2 separate regions of the Homo sapiens genome follow, and region 2 is linked to region 1. The links are contacts of gene promoters, found by promoter capture Hi-C in human tissues and cell types (Jung and others, 2019). All regions are on one chromosome and are shown on one strand. The core of a region is centred on a gene start or on the middle of the fragment in contact, and the rest is flanking DNA. Distances in the headings are between cores, read along the strand shown.

The links. The method cuts DNA at HindIII sites, captures the fragments that hold promoters and counts their contacts. A contact is called where the count stands out against the background at its distance.
Region 2: the fragment with the promoter of GIGYF1 here is called in contact with a fragment that was not itself captured in region 1 in 3 of the 25 tissues and cell types used here (adrenal gland, dorsolateral prefrontal cortex and hippocampus).

What each region holds. Positions count from the first base shown.
Region 1 is chr7:100,428,182-100,435,495 of GRCh38, reverse strand. MEPCE (methylphosphate capping enzyme) reads right to left here and starts at 5,665. Exons shown (of 4, transcript NM_019606.6): 1 at 3,807-5,665; 2 at 2,359-2,577; 3 at 2,107-2,233; 4 at 1,378-1,994. The coding sequence starts at 5,477. The coding sequence ends at 1,942. It overlaps ZCWPW1 (zinc finger CW-type and PWWP domain containing 1), which reads left to right and starts at 6,793. Exons shown (of 18, transcript NM_001386010.1): 1 at 6,793-6,928. It overlaps PPP1R35 (protein phosphatase 1 regulatory subunit 35), which reads left to right. Exons shown (of 4, transcript NM_145030.4): 4 at 1-214. The coding sequence ends at 136. RefSeq lists enhancers at 4,766-4,845, 5,716-5,855, 6,876-7,105 and silencers at 4,976-5,445, 7,266-7,314. The HindIII fragment of the contact is 6,950 bases long and covers 1-6,458 here.
Region 2 is chr7:100,689,498-100,696,811 of GRCh38, reverse strand. GIGYF1 (GRB10 interacting GYF protein 1) reads left to right here and starts at 2,562. Exons shown (of 27, transcript NM_001375765.1): 1 at 2,562-2,702; 2 at 7,257-7,314. RefSeq lists an enhancer at 653-1,456, silencers at 2,144-2,303, 2,744-2,843, 3,014-3,133, 4,896-5,065 and a cis regulatory region at 1,995-3,488. The HindIII fragment of the contact is 16,890 bases long and covers 1-7,314 here.

The sequences.
Region 1 (7,314 bases), core at 1,734-4,233:
TGACCCAGAAACGCTATTTTATGAATCTCCACACCTGACCCTGGACGGTCTGCCCCCTCTCCGACTTCAACTCCGGCCCCGCCCTTCAGAGGACACCTTCCTCATGCACCGGACACTGAGGCGATGGGAAGCGTAGACCCCAAAGATCCCTGGAGGGCTAGTTCGTATTTTTGTGTTAAACTATTTGTTAGAATAAAGTAATTTTGCTAATAAATGGGACTCTTCTTGGAGGCCTAAAATGGGGTTAAAAGCTCTCTAGGGGGTTATCCACTTAGCCTCAGGTTGGAAGCTGCCTGGAAGTCGGGTTTGGGGGCCTTTTTGGAACTTGGTAGAGTCATGGCAAGTGGAAAACACTGTCCACGTTAGAGGTTTACTTAGATACCCCTCCGTTCACAACCTTACCTGCCTCTCCCTGACTTCAGCCACAGCTACTGCCTGTTTTTGATCAGGTAGCGATTGTTCTCTGCATCACTTATTCTGATCTCTCAAAATGCAGAGCCCAGCCTATCACACTTCACGAAAACCTTCCATGATTACCTGTCTCAAGGAGCTTGCAAGCCAGCTGTCTGCACTGAGTTACTGAAATTATCTCCTTGCTTTTTACCTTTAAGAGCCTTGCCCATCCTGTTTACACCTGACCTGAATACTCAGTATGTTCGAAGTTCCAGTAACACCTAACAAGCCCCCGAAGAGCTTCATGTTGTTAATTGCCTGTAAGTCTGATTCCACAGCACAAAAAAGGTGCTGGCCCGTCCCTGGGCATTTGATCCAAAGCACTTTTGCCTACCTCCACCGTCAACTCTTTCCAAGTTAGCCTTCTGGCCAGGTGCAGTGGCTCGCGCCTGTAATCCCAGCACTTTAGAAGGCCGAGGCGGGTGGATCACCTGAGGTCAGGAGTTTGAAACCAGCCTGGCCAACATGGCGAAACCCCCGTGTCTACTAAAAATACAAAAAATTAGCTGGGCATGGTGGCGCGTGCCTGTAATCCCAGCTACTTGGGAGGGTGAGGCAGGAGAATCACTTGAACCTGGGAGGCGGATATTGCGGTAAGCCGAGATCACACCACTGTACTCCAGCCTGACGACAGAACAAATCTCCATCTCAGAAAAACAAAAACCAAAAAGTTAGCCTTCTGCCCAAAACGTCTACGGGGTTTTTCTGGGGAGGGAAGGCAGACTCCAAGTTCCACACCAAAATTTGCATTACACACCTTTTCCTGACTAGGCTTCTGTGTACTTGCGTGTGGACTTGACTAGTGTTCAACAATCAGCTCAACCACTGAAAAACGTGTCTTCCTTGAGATGGAAGATAAACAGCACAGGTTCTGGTGGGAGGCACCACCCATCCCCCACCAGCTAGACAGTACCGAGACAGGTGTGGGGGCCACTGCCCTAGACATCAAGTTTATTGTGCTGTTCTCACATTGAAAACCCAACCCCCTCTCCCACTGGGGGAGGGCAAAGGGAAGGATTTTCACAGTACCTGCGTGCCTCCCTGCCAGTCTTCCCCGTCTAACCCTCAGTCCCTCTATCCATGGTCCACTGAAATGCAGCTAGGGACAAGAGCTAGGTACAATGGCCGAGGAGAAATGGGAATCTCTCTCCTTGGGAGAATAGGAGGAAAGGGCTAGAGAATTTGATATCCTCCCACCTCCCATGCCCTAAGAGAACAGAGGTCAGCAAACAGTCCATGCCATCCAGCCTGGGAGGCTGGGGGAGAGGAAGATGATGGTGACTCCAGCACAGCCAGCCTTGCTGCGCAGGTGCCAGAGGCATAGGGAGGAGGCTGAGGCAGCGACGGAAGAAAAGCTTTCTTTGCAGATCCAAGAAAGGAAACTATTTTTGGAGTCAGAAAGGAAAGACCTTGGGACACTTTCCTCTTCCCCCAGGTCCTTATGAGCAGCGAGGGCAGCCTCTTCACACTTTCTGTTTAGGGGGCCACTTAGTGGCTGGGGGATCGGGCCTTGTGGAACAGGTACACAGGACGCTGGAAGCCTGAGGGGAGAGAGAGTGATCAGAAGGGGTTGGCAGCACCTCAAGAATCCCCATGGGGGTCTGCACTCTTTCAGCCAGGACCAGCCTCCCTGACAAAATAAACCAGCCTTACCTTTAGAGGTGTTGTGGGGTGTGGCCACAAGCTCATAGCTGGAGAAGCCCACGTCTGGGGATGTCAGGTAGGAACTGAACTGCTCTGGCTTCAATTGGATTCGGTAGTAGTTCTTGTAGATCGTTTCCTAAGGAGAGAGGCAAGGGACCACTTCAGCACGCTGCCGCCTCCCCTGGCCAAGGGCGATGCCCACCTCGGGGCCTTTTCTTGCCTCAACCAAAGGAATGACTATTCCCCCAACACCCAACTCACTGTAAGAGTCTTTCTCTTGCCATACGACGACCAGGGTTGGGGCTCTAGGACCAGGATGCCCCCAGGGCGTAGGTGCCGGTAGATCCGGCGAAACATGCGCTTCAGGCCCTCGTCTCCCCAGTTCAGATGCACCCACTTGGTGAGGCTGAGGCAGAGCACCACATCATACTCAGGTGTTTGGGCCTCCACCAGGTCATCTCGATCCAGCACATAATTACCCTGAGGGCAAGAATCGGCAGTGAGGTCAACTGAGGGAATCAAAGAACCCCTGCTCCCAGGCAACCTGCTCTGAGGCCGATACAGTCCCGCGGCCTCACTTTAGCCCGTGGCCACTTTCTTCTCAGACTAACTCCCAAAAGGTGCCTGCCCTCTTTGAGTTTTGTTTTCTCCTCTACACCTTCCTGCCTCTGCTTCTTCCTACTGGTGGTAAGCCAAAAAAGGTCGACGGAGCCTGAGTAATTTTAAATGGTGCAAATTATCCATGAAGTCTTCCAAAGCTAGGGTCCCAGGACCATATCCTGTGTTTATTCTCACTCACAGACATTAAGTGGAGTGACTGCAGGTTCTGCAAGGGTAACTAACCCAGGTTTCAAAGGCAGACCTGTGGTTCCTTCCCTGCAGTTGGGGCTGGCAAAGTTTCAGGCCTATTCTTTCCTTTCTCTGAGAGAAATGAAGAGCCACATCCTTTAGGAAGCCTTTTCTAGAAGCTCAGCTCATCACAACCCTCTAAAAAGACCATTCTTCAGGCTTAACCCAACACAATGCCAAAGATCCCAGTAGGCAGCCTAACTGGAGTGTTCTCTGGGGAGCTGTGTGCAGTCAGGGGACTCTGCAGGGCACAGGACTCTCTCCTCTCTGCAGAGGAGTTTCTGGTTCTTCCCTCTCCCACTATCTAGGGTCAATGTGGAGAGGATCTACAGCCAAACCACTTGGGTTCCTGACACGCTTCAACAAACTGTCTAGGAAAACAAAAGCCGCTGATAGGAGCAAGGTGGCTATCAAAGGGCAGAAACGCCAGTATTAGTCTGTCGCTACCCTAATCTCCTCCCTAGAAGACATTCCATGTCTGACTCCCATTCTCAGGCTCCTTCAGTAAATCTGAGGACCAAGTTCCACCTGGATCAAATTCCCTAGTGAGCAGCAGCCTTCAAGGGAAGGGAAGGTGGACCAGTGTGGATTATAGGCCAAGCCGGGAGCAGAGCAAAAAGAGAGTCCTCCTCTATCTTGGAGATCCTTGCAGTCATGACAAAGGACTCCAGGGTCAATGCCCCAAGGTAGACACCCCACCTTTCCAGGTTATAAGAGGGGAGAGACGCCCAGCAGAGGCTCTCACTTGCCAACCCAGACCCCTCTTTTGAGGATCTGGGTCATAACCTTCCCTGCTACATTCCCATTTAATCTCATCTTCACACCTGGCCCCTATTCCAAGAGCCTCTGGACCCTCTTACCGTGACGAAGACAACATTGTTGGGGAAGACTGATGTGTCCGCTCCATCCAAGGGCACTTGGGGGGCAGCGATGGGACCCCGGCTGGCAGTCAGCGAGGCTGGGAAGCAGCTCCTCTTTCGAACGGTGGTGGTCCCTTCCTCACCCTCTGCCCCCGGGTCCCCTTCCAAAGTCTGGGGTGGGAGACGCAGCTCCTCGGAAAGGTAGTGTCGGATGTTTTGGCGGGCAGAATGGATGAGCCGGGAATCGATATCCAGGCCCACCATGCGGGACGGGCCCCACTTGCAGGCAATGCTCAGGGTCAGATGGCCCACATTGCAGCCCAGATCTAGGACGTCCCGGCCCCGAAACCACTCAGGCTTCAACACCCGAAGGCGCCCATCCTCACAGGAAGGATTGCGGTACCCATAGTATTTGCAATAATTCCCATACTGGAACTTGCGCTGTTGCTTTTTGAAGCCTGCTGCAGGCAGTGGGTGGTGGTGGTGGTGGCGGCCTCCCCAACTCCCTCGGCCCTTTTCCTTGGAACCCTGGCCTCCACCCCTAGCCCCTGCCTCCGACTTGCTGGAAGTCCTGCGACGTTTGCGATGTCGGGAGGAGGAAGATGGGGGTGCAGAGATAACTGAGGCAGCTGGAGGGGCTGATAGGGAGCCTGAGGGACCCTGCAGAGCAGATGGAAGGGGAGACACCACTTCATCCCTGCAGTTGATGGCTGTGTTGAGTTCATAGGGTTGGGGGGCATCCCGGTTCTGGCCCCTGTGCCGCGGCTGCTGTGAGGCGCCCTCCCCGTGGAGTAAGGGGGTGAGAGGGGCTGTGGGCGGCACGGGGTGACTCTCACTCCCTCCGGCTGCCTGCTGCTGCTGGTGGTGCTGTCCCCGGTGTCTATGCCGCTTCCGACCAGTCTTGAGTGGCGAAGCAAGAACTACATGGCCCTCATCAGTGCAAGTATTGAGACTGAGCGGGTCAGTAATATCTTTGGGGATGAGGATCTCCACCGGATCTCGCCCTTTGGCCGGAAGGGGGGATGACTTAGGGGTCTCCGCGTTGAGAGTGCGGCTCACTTCCTCATCCAGGAGGCTATTCAGGTTCAGGGGATCAAAGATATTGCCCCCCAGGAGGAAGTTGGAGGGTAACACAGAGTCACAGTCCGAATTCACCCGCCTGCGCCTCTTGAAGGCCGGATGTTTGAAGCCTCCCCCGCCTCCCCCTACATTACAGCTATTTCTCCTCTTGCCCCCGCCCCCCCCAGGTGGCCGGTGGGGCTGATAGCCATTGCGGGGTCGAGGAGGAGCAGGGGGACCCAGCTCTGTCCCGCCCCCTCCCCGGCGCTCCTCCCCCACGTCCGGGGGAGCGGCTCGCCCCGGGGGATCCGACAGGCGGGCCTCCCCATGCGACTGCGCCTGGGGGCCGCCCCCTCGGTGCTGCTGCGCCTGGGGACCACTGGAGGAGGTGGCCGCGGCCCCGGGGCTTTCCCGACCGACCGCAGCGGCTGGGGACCCCGCAGATGGCGCGCAACGACCCGGACCACGCTCCGTCCCGCCGCGGAGCTCCCCAGAGGCGGCCTCTTGGTGCGGTGGCACCGTGGGGCCGCCCCCTCCGCCCGACTCATCTTTGAGCGGCGGCGGCGGGGCCGGCACCAGAAACGGCTCCTTCTCCGCCGCCATCTCGATCATTTCCTCCCCTTATTCCGTGCCAGTCGGGGTAACGAGGGGGATCAGGGGGCCTAACCCCCCCTGCCTGGACCCTGCTCCCTTCCCCCCTTTCCCGAGTGCGCGCGCAGCTCTGCTCTTCACGCCTAGTCTCGCGCCCAAGCGCCTCCCCGCCAAGTGCGCCCTACTAGCCCGCGAGACCAAAACAAGAGGCCCGCGAGACCCGAACTACTCGAGGACTCAACCGCGCGTGCGCCGACCCCTTTCTCCTCCGCCACTACCACCCGGCCGCGAGCGCGCACGGTGAGCGCGCGTTCCCTTCGCCCGGGAACCACGCATGCGCACTCCGCCACCACCCTGGTTGCGCGCGCATCAGACTACGAACCAACTTAACGGCTCTGGGAGTTTAAATATAACCCCCCCACAGCCCCCGCAAAAGCCCACCACCCCAAACTGACACCCTACTTCCCTGCGCAGCTATGTCCGGCCCTACTGATCTCCTTTGTCTCTGCCGCGCGATCCCACCCACCGTAGGCGGGGGACGGGAGCTGGTGTGAAAAGGTCTCCTTGACACCCGACCCTTGTTCCTGAGGAATGAGTCTCAGCGGTCTCCGCCCGGCTCTAAATCCAACAACCTCCCCACCCCGCCTCCTTCCTCCCCCCTAGTGGGCAGCGCCTGCGCACACCCTTTTGGGCTTGCGCGGGTAGAGGCAGCACGTGCTGAAACTGGCGCCCCGCCCCCCGTCTTAGGGGTTGGGCCTGTGACGTCGCTTCCTTAAGTTTGGTAAACGCAGCGTGCGTCAGCGCGATCCGGAGGGGCGGGGCTTCCTGACGAAGGGCGGGGCTCATGAATTATTCATGAGCTGTTGGTAGCAAACCTCCCCCCCTCTGCCCACCTTCTTAGAAGCGCTTCCGAGGGAGCGGAGGGGAGACCCTACAAAGCCAAGGAAGGGCGGGAGTGGAACTGGGCTCAGTAAAACGCGATAGGTCATTATAACTCACCCCCCTTGAAAATATTCTCTGCTGAATTGGGGAAAAATAAAAAGCACTAAAACAGCCGATGTTGTCCAACTTCCTCTTCCCCCGAAACGGCTGAGTCGTTCTCTGGCTCCTCTACCTTCCCCCAATCGCAATCACCTGGAGACGCCACACCACGCCTTCCTCTCCGCCTCAACACCCACGACCCGAACCCCAACGCATCCGCCCACTCCCGACGCCCGCTCACTGGCCCGTCAGTTCGCGGGCCTCTCAACACCCACCGCGGCGCCACGCCGACTTATATACCAGCGAGTGTGGGCGGGGACGGGGGTTCGGTCCGCGCTGGGCCCCCCCAGCTTCTGCCAATGAGGAAGAAGCGAGTCTACGCCGTTTTCCCGGGGAGATGCGCCGCCCGGTCTCCCTGCCAGCGGAGTGCTGGGCCGAGGACAGGGCGGCAGGGGTGACAGTGGGGTCCAGGAGAGTCTCAAAATCCTAAGGTGAGGGCGTGAAGGAGACCAGCAGGAAGAGGAGGAATTAGAGAACGGAAAGAGGGAGGAAAAGGCAGTCTGAAACAGAAAAGTTAGTAGATGTGCTTCAGGAACAATCAGGCGCCGCGGCCGCCGCCTAAAAATATGTGACACCAAAGAGGATTCTGGGATTTGTAGTTTTCCCGGGACGTTCGGGTGGAAGATGGCGGATTTACCTCAGCTGCGGAAACGCAGACGCTGTTTCCAGTTGCGCATGCGCCTCGGCCCCGCGAGCGCACCGCCCTCGGGTGGAGCTAGTGCTCAGGGCGTCCTCGTGCCTTTTCTTGGTGGCGGGAAACCTGGGTTGAGGTGTGAGGGGCTTGCGGAGTCGCTGCGGCAGCTGGTTCCGCCCATCG
Region 2 (7,314 bases), core at 1,313-3,812, 260 kb before region 1:
TGGGAGGCCAATATGGAAGGACTGCTTGAGCCCAGGAGTTCGAGAACAGCCCAGGCAACATAGTGATACTTCAGTCTGTACAAAAATTTAAAAGTAAAAAATAATAGCTGGGCCAGGCACAGTAGCTCGTGCCTGTAATCCCAGCACTTTTGGAGGCTGAGGCAGGTAGATCACCTGAGTTCAGGAGTTCGAGACCAGCCTGGCCAACATGGTGAAACCCTGTCTCTACTAAAAATACAAAAATTAGCCAGGCATGGTAGCACACACCTGTAATCCCAGCTACTTGGGAGGCTGAGGCACGAGAACTGCTTGAACCTGGGGTCGGAGGTTGCAGTGAGCTGAGATCACGCCACTGCACTCCAGCCTGGGCAACAGGGTGAGACTCTTTCTCAAAAAAAAAATAAATAATAAATAATACCCGGGTATGGTGGTGTGCCACTCCCTGCAATCCCAGCTACTCGGGAGGCTGAGGAGGGAGGATCACTTAAGCCTAGGAGGTCGATGCTGCAGTGAGCTGATTGTGCCACTGCACTCCAGGCTGGGCAGCAGAGCAAGACCCTGTCTCTTAAATAAATAAAATAGTTAAAAAAGGAAAACAGACAGGAAAACTCCAAGTGCAGAGAAGCCTAGTGGTACTTGGTGGGGGAAACAAAAGTTGTTCCAGGTATAATAGTTCCTGAAGTCAACACTCTATCATGGCAAGACACCAGGCACTCAAATTCCAAGTCATGAACTTACCTTTTCCTTGTTTTGAGGATTACATTGTGTTGGGCGACAGCTCTTTTAGGCTTCTGGGAAGTAAGGTATACATTCTGGAGTAACTTCCAAAGAAAAAGGTGAAAGCATACGCGGAACTTTTGAGCCTTGAAAAAGTTCAGCGAGTCATTCTTGAAAAGTCCTTTTTTTAAACAAAGGGGGTTTCAGTCACCTCACATTTGCATAGCAGTTTCTCTCTTGTCAAAGCCTTTCACATTCACTTATTTTAATTCTTACAGCACTCAAGGAAGAGTGTGGAGTTGGGGGTCGGGGGTTGGGTGCAGAGCAGTGTTAACATCCTTCTGTAAGAGAAACGGAGGCTTTTGAGAGGCCAGGCGTGGCGGCTCATGCCTGTCATCCCGGCACCTTGGAAGGAGGATCCATTTGGGTCCAGGAGTTCCCGGCACTTTGGAAGGAGGATCATTTGGGTCCAGGAGTTCAAGACCAGCCTGGGCAACATGGGGGAAACCCTGTCTCTACAAAAAAAAAAAAAAAAAAAAAAAAAAAGCTGGGCGTGGTGGTGTGCCCTGGTAGTCCTAGCTACTCAGGGTGCTTGAGGCAGGAGGATTGCTTGAGCCCAGGAGGCGCAGGATGCAGTTAACCGTGATCGCGCCACTGCACTCCAGCCTGGGCGACAGAGCAAGACTCTGTCTTGGAAAACAAACAAACAACAAATACAATAAATTAAAAAAATTAGTTGGGTGTGGTGGCACACAGCTGTAGTCCCAGCTACTCAAGAGGCTGTGGCAGGAGGATCCCTTGAGACCAGGAGTTCAAGACCAGCCTGGGCAATGTTATGAGACACGCCACCCGCCCAGTCTTTACAGAGAATAAAAAAGTTATCTGGGTGTGATGGTGCACACCTATAGTCCCAACAATTCAGGAGGCTGAGATGGGAGGATCGCTTGAGACACGGGAGTTGGAGGCTGCCGTAAGCCGAGATCGGGCTAGTACACTGCAGCTGGGGCAACAGAGTGAGACCCTGCTTCAAAAAAATAAATAAATAGGGGCCGGGCGCGGTGGCTCACGCCTGTAATCCCAGCACTTTGGGAGGGCGAGACAGGCGGATCACTTGAGTGGTCAGGAGTTCTAGACCAGCCTGGCCAACAAAAATAAGCCAAACGTGGTGGTGTGTGCTTGTAATCTCAGCTACTCGGGAGGCCAAGGCATGAGAATCACTTGAATCCGGGAGGCGGAGGCTGCAGTGAGCCGAGATCGCGCCACTGGACTGCAACCTGGGGGACAGAGCAACACTCTGTCTCAATAATTAAATAAATAATTAAAAAAATAAAGAGGCTCCTGAGAGTCAACTTATTTGCCTGAGCCACTTATTTCACACATCCCAGGACGCCTGATGAAGGGTTCTGGATTTTATTGTCTCCTGTCATCCAGGCGGGCTTCCTGGAGGAAACCGGACCGCCAGGGAGGCCGCGGCCTCGGTCCCAGAGGTCGCGCGTCGCGGGGCCGGGGGAGGTGGGGGAGAGGAGGCCGCTCTGGGGCCGATCCCGCCCGCAGCTGGGGGCCCCCGTCACGTGACCAGCCGGGCGCCCAGGTCACGTGTCGGGGCGGGGAGGGGGGGGGCTGTCGGGGGCGACGGGCGTCCGGGCAGTGGCGCGCGCGGCACGCGAGCAGCGCACGAGGAGAGGTGGCGCGGGCCGGAGCCGCGGAGGGAGGCGGCGGCGGCGGCGGCGGCGGCGGCGGCGGCGGCGGCGGCGGCGGCGGCGGCGGCGGCGGCGGCGGCGGTGGAAGGGGCGGCCCCGCGGCCCCGCGTCCGCGTCACGTGGTGCGAGGCGGGCAGCCATCTTGCTACAAACACAAACACAGAGGAGCGGCCGCCGCGGGAGCGCCAGCGCCCCCTCCCCCGCTGCTAGCCGCCGTCGCCGTCCCCGGCCCCCGCCCGCCGCGCGCCGCCCACGCCCCGGGACCGGACCCTCGCGCCGCCCGCGGTAAGCGCCCAGTGGCCCCGCGGCCCCCGGCCCGCAGCCCAGCCCCGGGGCAGGCCCGCCCCCGACGCCGCGGCGGCCGCGCCGAGCCCGCGAGCTAGAGAAGCGCCGGAGCCAGCGCGCGGGCCGCCAGCGAGGACCCTCCCCCGTCTCCTCCCCGAGGCCGCCGCAGCCCGGTGCGTCCTCCCGCTCTCCCGCCCGCTCCGGCCCATCCCCGCCGCCGGGACCCTCCCCCAGAGCCGGCCAGCCTCGGGGAGGCCCCGGGAGGCCGGCGCCCGGCTTAGGGGGCGACCGCTCGCCCCCCTCGCACCTGGCGCCCCTCCCTGAAGGGCACGCCGTCCTCCCGGGCCGGCGCGCTGCCTTCCACCCCCGCGCTCCTAACGGTCGCCCCCGGGCCCCTGCCAAGCCCTGCCCTGGGCCGCCTGGGGGCCCCCGACCCTAGCGTCCTAGGGTGGCCGGGCCCCGCGCTTCCCGGAGTTCTCCCCAGCGCGCCTTTGGGTTCCCCTCGGAACGAGCTGGGCCTTGCGGTTCCCCAGGTCCAAGCGTTCCACGACTTTGGCCAACATGGAAGCCTTGCCCTCCACCCAGGCACCTCGCCTGGGTCCTCCTCACCTCTGTTTCCTTTCGCTCCGGCGATCTTAGTGCTGGGTCATTGGGGTCTCCTTCTTCCCAGTTGCTCGGCCGCGGGAAATACCTTCCTTAGCAGAGACTGCTTGTCCTCCCCGTCCCAGGCCAGGCCCTTCTCAGCTCATGCCCCTCCGTGCAGCAGCTCCCTGGCCACAGCTCTCACACTTTGCCTTAAAAAAAAAAAAAAACAAAAAAATTTCCGAGTAACTTTTTAAAAGCCCCTCGTCTCTCTTCTCTGTTATACAGTCATTACTCGCATTCCCGGTCAGACTCCAGGTCTGTTGCATCCTAGTGCTAGGAACTAGGAGATGCTACATAAAGACTTGTTAGCTGGATTGGATTTTTTTTTTCCAGCCACCCAAGCCTTACTTCCCTCCTGCCTCTCAAAGTGTCGTTCTGGAAGATCGTCAGCTTTCCCACCCTCTTGTGCACTGCCTCTTCGAGTCTATATAGAAGTTTCAATTTAGAACCCCGCCAACCCCTCGCCTTTGGCATGGAAACACCATCGGTGGTACCAGTAAGGGTCTCTCCTTTGCTGCCGACATGGGGGATTTGGGGTTCTTTCTCCTTCCCATCTTTCCTGTGCCCTTTGCAGACCTAGGCTAGCCACCCTCCACCAGGCTAGCCAGCTCCAATCTGATTTTCTTAGATTGTAGGTCTTGGTCCCCCAGCGGTCTGTCGTGCCATTGGGAAGGATTTGAGGGTAGACCTGGCCTTGGTGTCCCTGCCATTGCCTGGGGACCAGGGGCCCTGAGGGTCCCACGTGGTGGTTAGTCAAGTGGACCATGTGCTTAAACTTCTGGACTAGCTTTTTCTGCTGTTGGACACATCAGTCTTGTGTTCGTGATCTGATGCGTTAGCCCTAACTTTTACATCTGCTATTGGAATTTGGGAATTAAAGAAAAATAGCCCACTTTAGAGGAGAGAAGATGAGAGGAGGAGGCTAGATGAAGGATGTTGAAAGTCTAACAAATGTAAAATGGCTTCAAACTCACAGAATAATGCTTGCGAGTTTGGGATGGTTACTGCTACCGTGCGCACCTCCAGTCTTGCATAGTGTCAAGGATGTCGGGGCACGCTGTCGGAGCAGCTTCCTCCTTCTTTTCCCTGGCTGGAGCCCAAGGCTGGGCAAGTGGGCAAAAGGGATCACAGGAGGTAAAGAGTGAAAATCCTTTGAAAACTGTTAACTTGTAGACAATTGCCAAGCGGTGGTGTGATTTGCTGGGATGGCTCAGAGAGGAGAGAGCTGGGATAACCGACCAGCCGCGAAGAATGCGGGTTTGCATCTCTTTTTTAAGCCTCAGCGTCCTCACCCTACCACGCTTGGAGAATCTCCATCCTGAGAAAGGGCCAGGTCCCCTCCAGCAGGCCTGGGGCTGGGCGGTTGTTCCAGTGTTGAGGAATTGGGGACTGTGCTTCTGTTTAAGTGGCTCTGTTCTGTGCCAAGGCACAGTGCTCTGTGTTGGAGCTAATTTTAGGGGTGATGGAGTGAGGAGATAATGTTCTTAGCTGAATGTGCACTGGGACCGCCTGTTCTCTGTCTTTTCTTTCTCTCTTGAGTTCTGAGCCCCAGAGAGCAGGCTCCCTTTCCCGCGCGCCCTGGCGCCTACTGGAGCACCCGGGCCCAGCGTGTCCTCGCCCCTTGTCTCCGGCAGGGGGCAGTCTTTCAAAAGCATTGATTCAGATGCTGGGGGAGTGAGGGTAGACAGGCCCGAGAAAGAGAAGGGGTGGGGAAGGGGCGAGGAGCCGAAGTAGGCCGAGGCTTGAGGGCAGGGCCAGGGCGGGGGACAGGCTGGAAGGGGCCTGTGAGAAGGAGACCCTGAGCTGAGAAAGCTCAGCCGGGTAAGCTGAGACGGGCAGGTGGCAGTACCCCAGCCCCCGCCACCTCCTGCTCTTACCTTCATTGGACAGGGATCAGATACCTGGCCCTGAGAGCTTGCAATAGACAAACTTAGGCAGTTTTTCTTAAAAAAAAAAAATCTATTCTTTTCTCAAAGATTTTCTCCTGGCAGGATTTCAGATTTCCCTCGTGGGACAGTGTAATTAGGGAATGATGTCCCTGCTGTTCAGAGAGGAGAATGACCCAGCGTGCACACACCTGCCTTCCCTTGCCTTCCCCTTGGCCCAGTAGACCCCCAAGGGCTGTGCCCATGCTCGTGGCGCAGAGGAGGGTGTCTCAGCACTGGCGCACTTGGTATCTGGAGTCACATAGCTCTTGGCTGTGGGGCTGCCCTGTGCACCCCCTGCCCAGTGGTGACAACCCAGAATGTCTCTAGACTTGGCCAAGAGCCCCCTGAGGAGCAGAGGTGCCCCCAGTCCAGAACCTGTTGGAGGGTGGGAGCCCCATGGTGGCCTGCAGGTGTGCCACTAGTTCCTTTAGTCCAAGGAAGGGGCCAGGCACCATCAGCTTCCGGCACCAGACCCTGCTGTGGGGGTGCCTAGAGAGTTAACCTCACTCTCCTGGTTTCTTCCCAAGAAGGCGGGTGGCATGGGCTTTTTCCTGCTCTGGGCCTGCTCTCTCCCCTGTCTTGGTGTCGCTGTCCTCAGTCTGCATGAACCATTCCCCCTTTGTGTGCCCCTTGCAGCCAAGACACAGCCAGGATGGGTGACTTGAGCCGGAGGCACCTAGGAGAGCTGCCCTTGCTGCGCCTGGCAGGGGGCAGTGTGAGGCCATCGCTTTAAATTTTTTTTTTTTTTTTTTTTTGAGACAGAGTCTTGCTCTGTTGCCCAGGCTGGAGTGCAGGGGCGCAATCTCAGCTCACTGCAACCTCCGCCTCCTGGGTTCAAGCGATTCTCCTGCCTCAGCCTCCCGAGTAGCTGGGATTAGAGGCACCTACCACCAGGACTGGCTAATTTTTGTATTTTTAGTAGAGACAGGGTTTTGCCACGTTGGCCAGGCTGGTCTCAAACTCCTGACCTCAGGTGATCTGGCTGCCTTGGCCTCCCAAAGTGCTGGGATTACAGGCATGAACCACCACGCCTGGCCACTTTTTCTTTTTTAAAAAATGTTTAGAATTGTTTCTGTAGAGTCGTGGTCTTGTTCTGTTACTCAGGCTGGTCTCGGACTCCTCTCTTCAAGCCTCCCACAGTGCTGGGATTATAGGCATAAGCCATTGTGCTGGCCAGGTGGTCCCTTTTCTGTTCTACTCTCTCCCACCCTCATGCCTCCAGGATGAGCTTCTGGCCTTCTAGAAGGAATGAACTGGAGGAGGCCCAAAATGGCCTCTCCTGAGGCTGATTTGAAGGAATGTGGGGTGTTTTTCTTGGAGTGGGGAAAACTTAGGTATGCGGTGGTTATCTCCAGATACCTTTTGTTCCCTAAAGCTTTTTTAAAAAAATGATTATTGTGGTAAAATATACAACAAAATTTGGAGACTTTAACTGTCTCTAATTGTGCCATTCTGTGTTACTAAGTACACTCACATTGGTGTGCGGCCATGACCACCAGCGGCCCCAGGATCCCCTCCTCAGTTGAGGCTCTGGACCCTTCAGCAACAGCTCCCTGTCCCCTCAGCCCCTGGTGGCTGCCCTTCTACCTTCCTCCCTCAATGAGTGACTGCTCTAGAGACCTCATGAAAGAGAAGTAAGGGGTAGCTCTCCTTTTTTGGCTGGTGTGTTTCTCTTAGCGTGATGTCCTCAAGGCTCATCCAGTCCCCAGATTGCTCTAGGTGGCCACCTGCAGTCAGTGACAGGCTGGTGGCTTTTCATGTCATGGAACACACCACCACTGGAGCATCCAGCCGAGGCAGAGGAAGGAGAGGTCCCAGGGGAGGCCAGCCTGGCCTTGGGTTGCCTCTGAGCCCGGTGTTTCCCCCTGGAGTGCCTGGACTCTGAGCAGGCCTCGGCTTGTCATGGGCTGCTGGCTCAGCTGGGGCTGATGGCCTTTCCTCCTCAGCACCCTGGTTGAACCCGCTTCCTCTTCTTTCCCAGACTGTGGCGTCCTGGAGTTGATGGGAGCTGCAGCACCAAGCCGGGCCAGCCTCCCTCC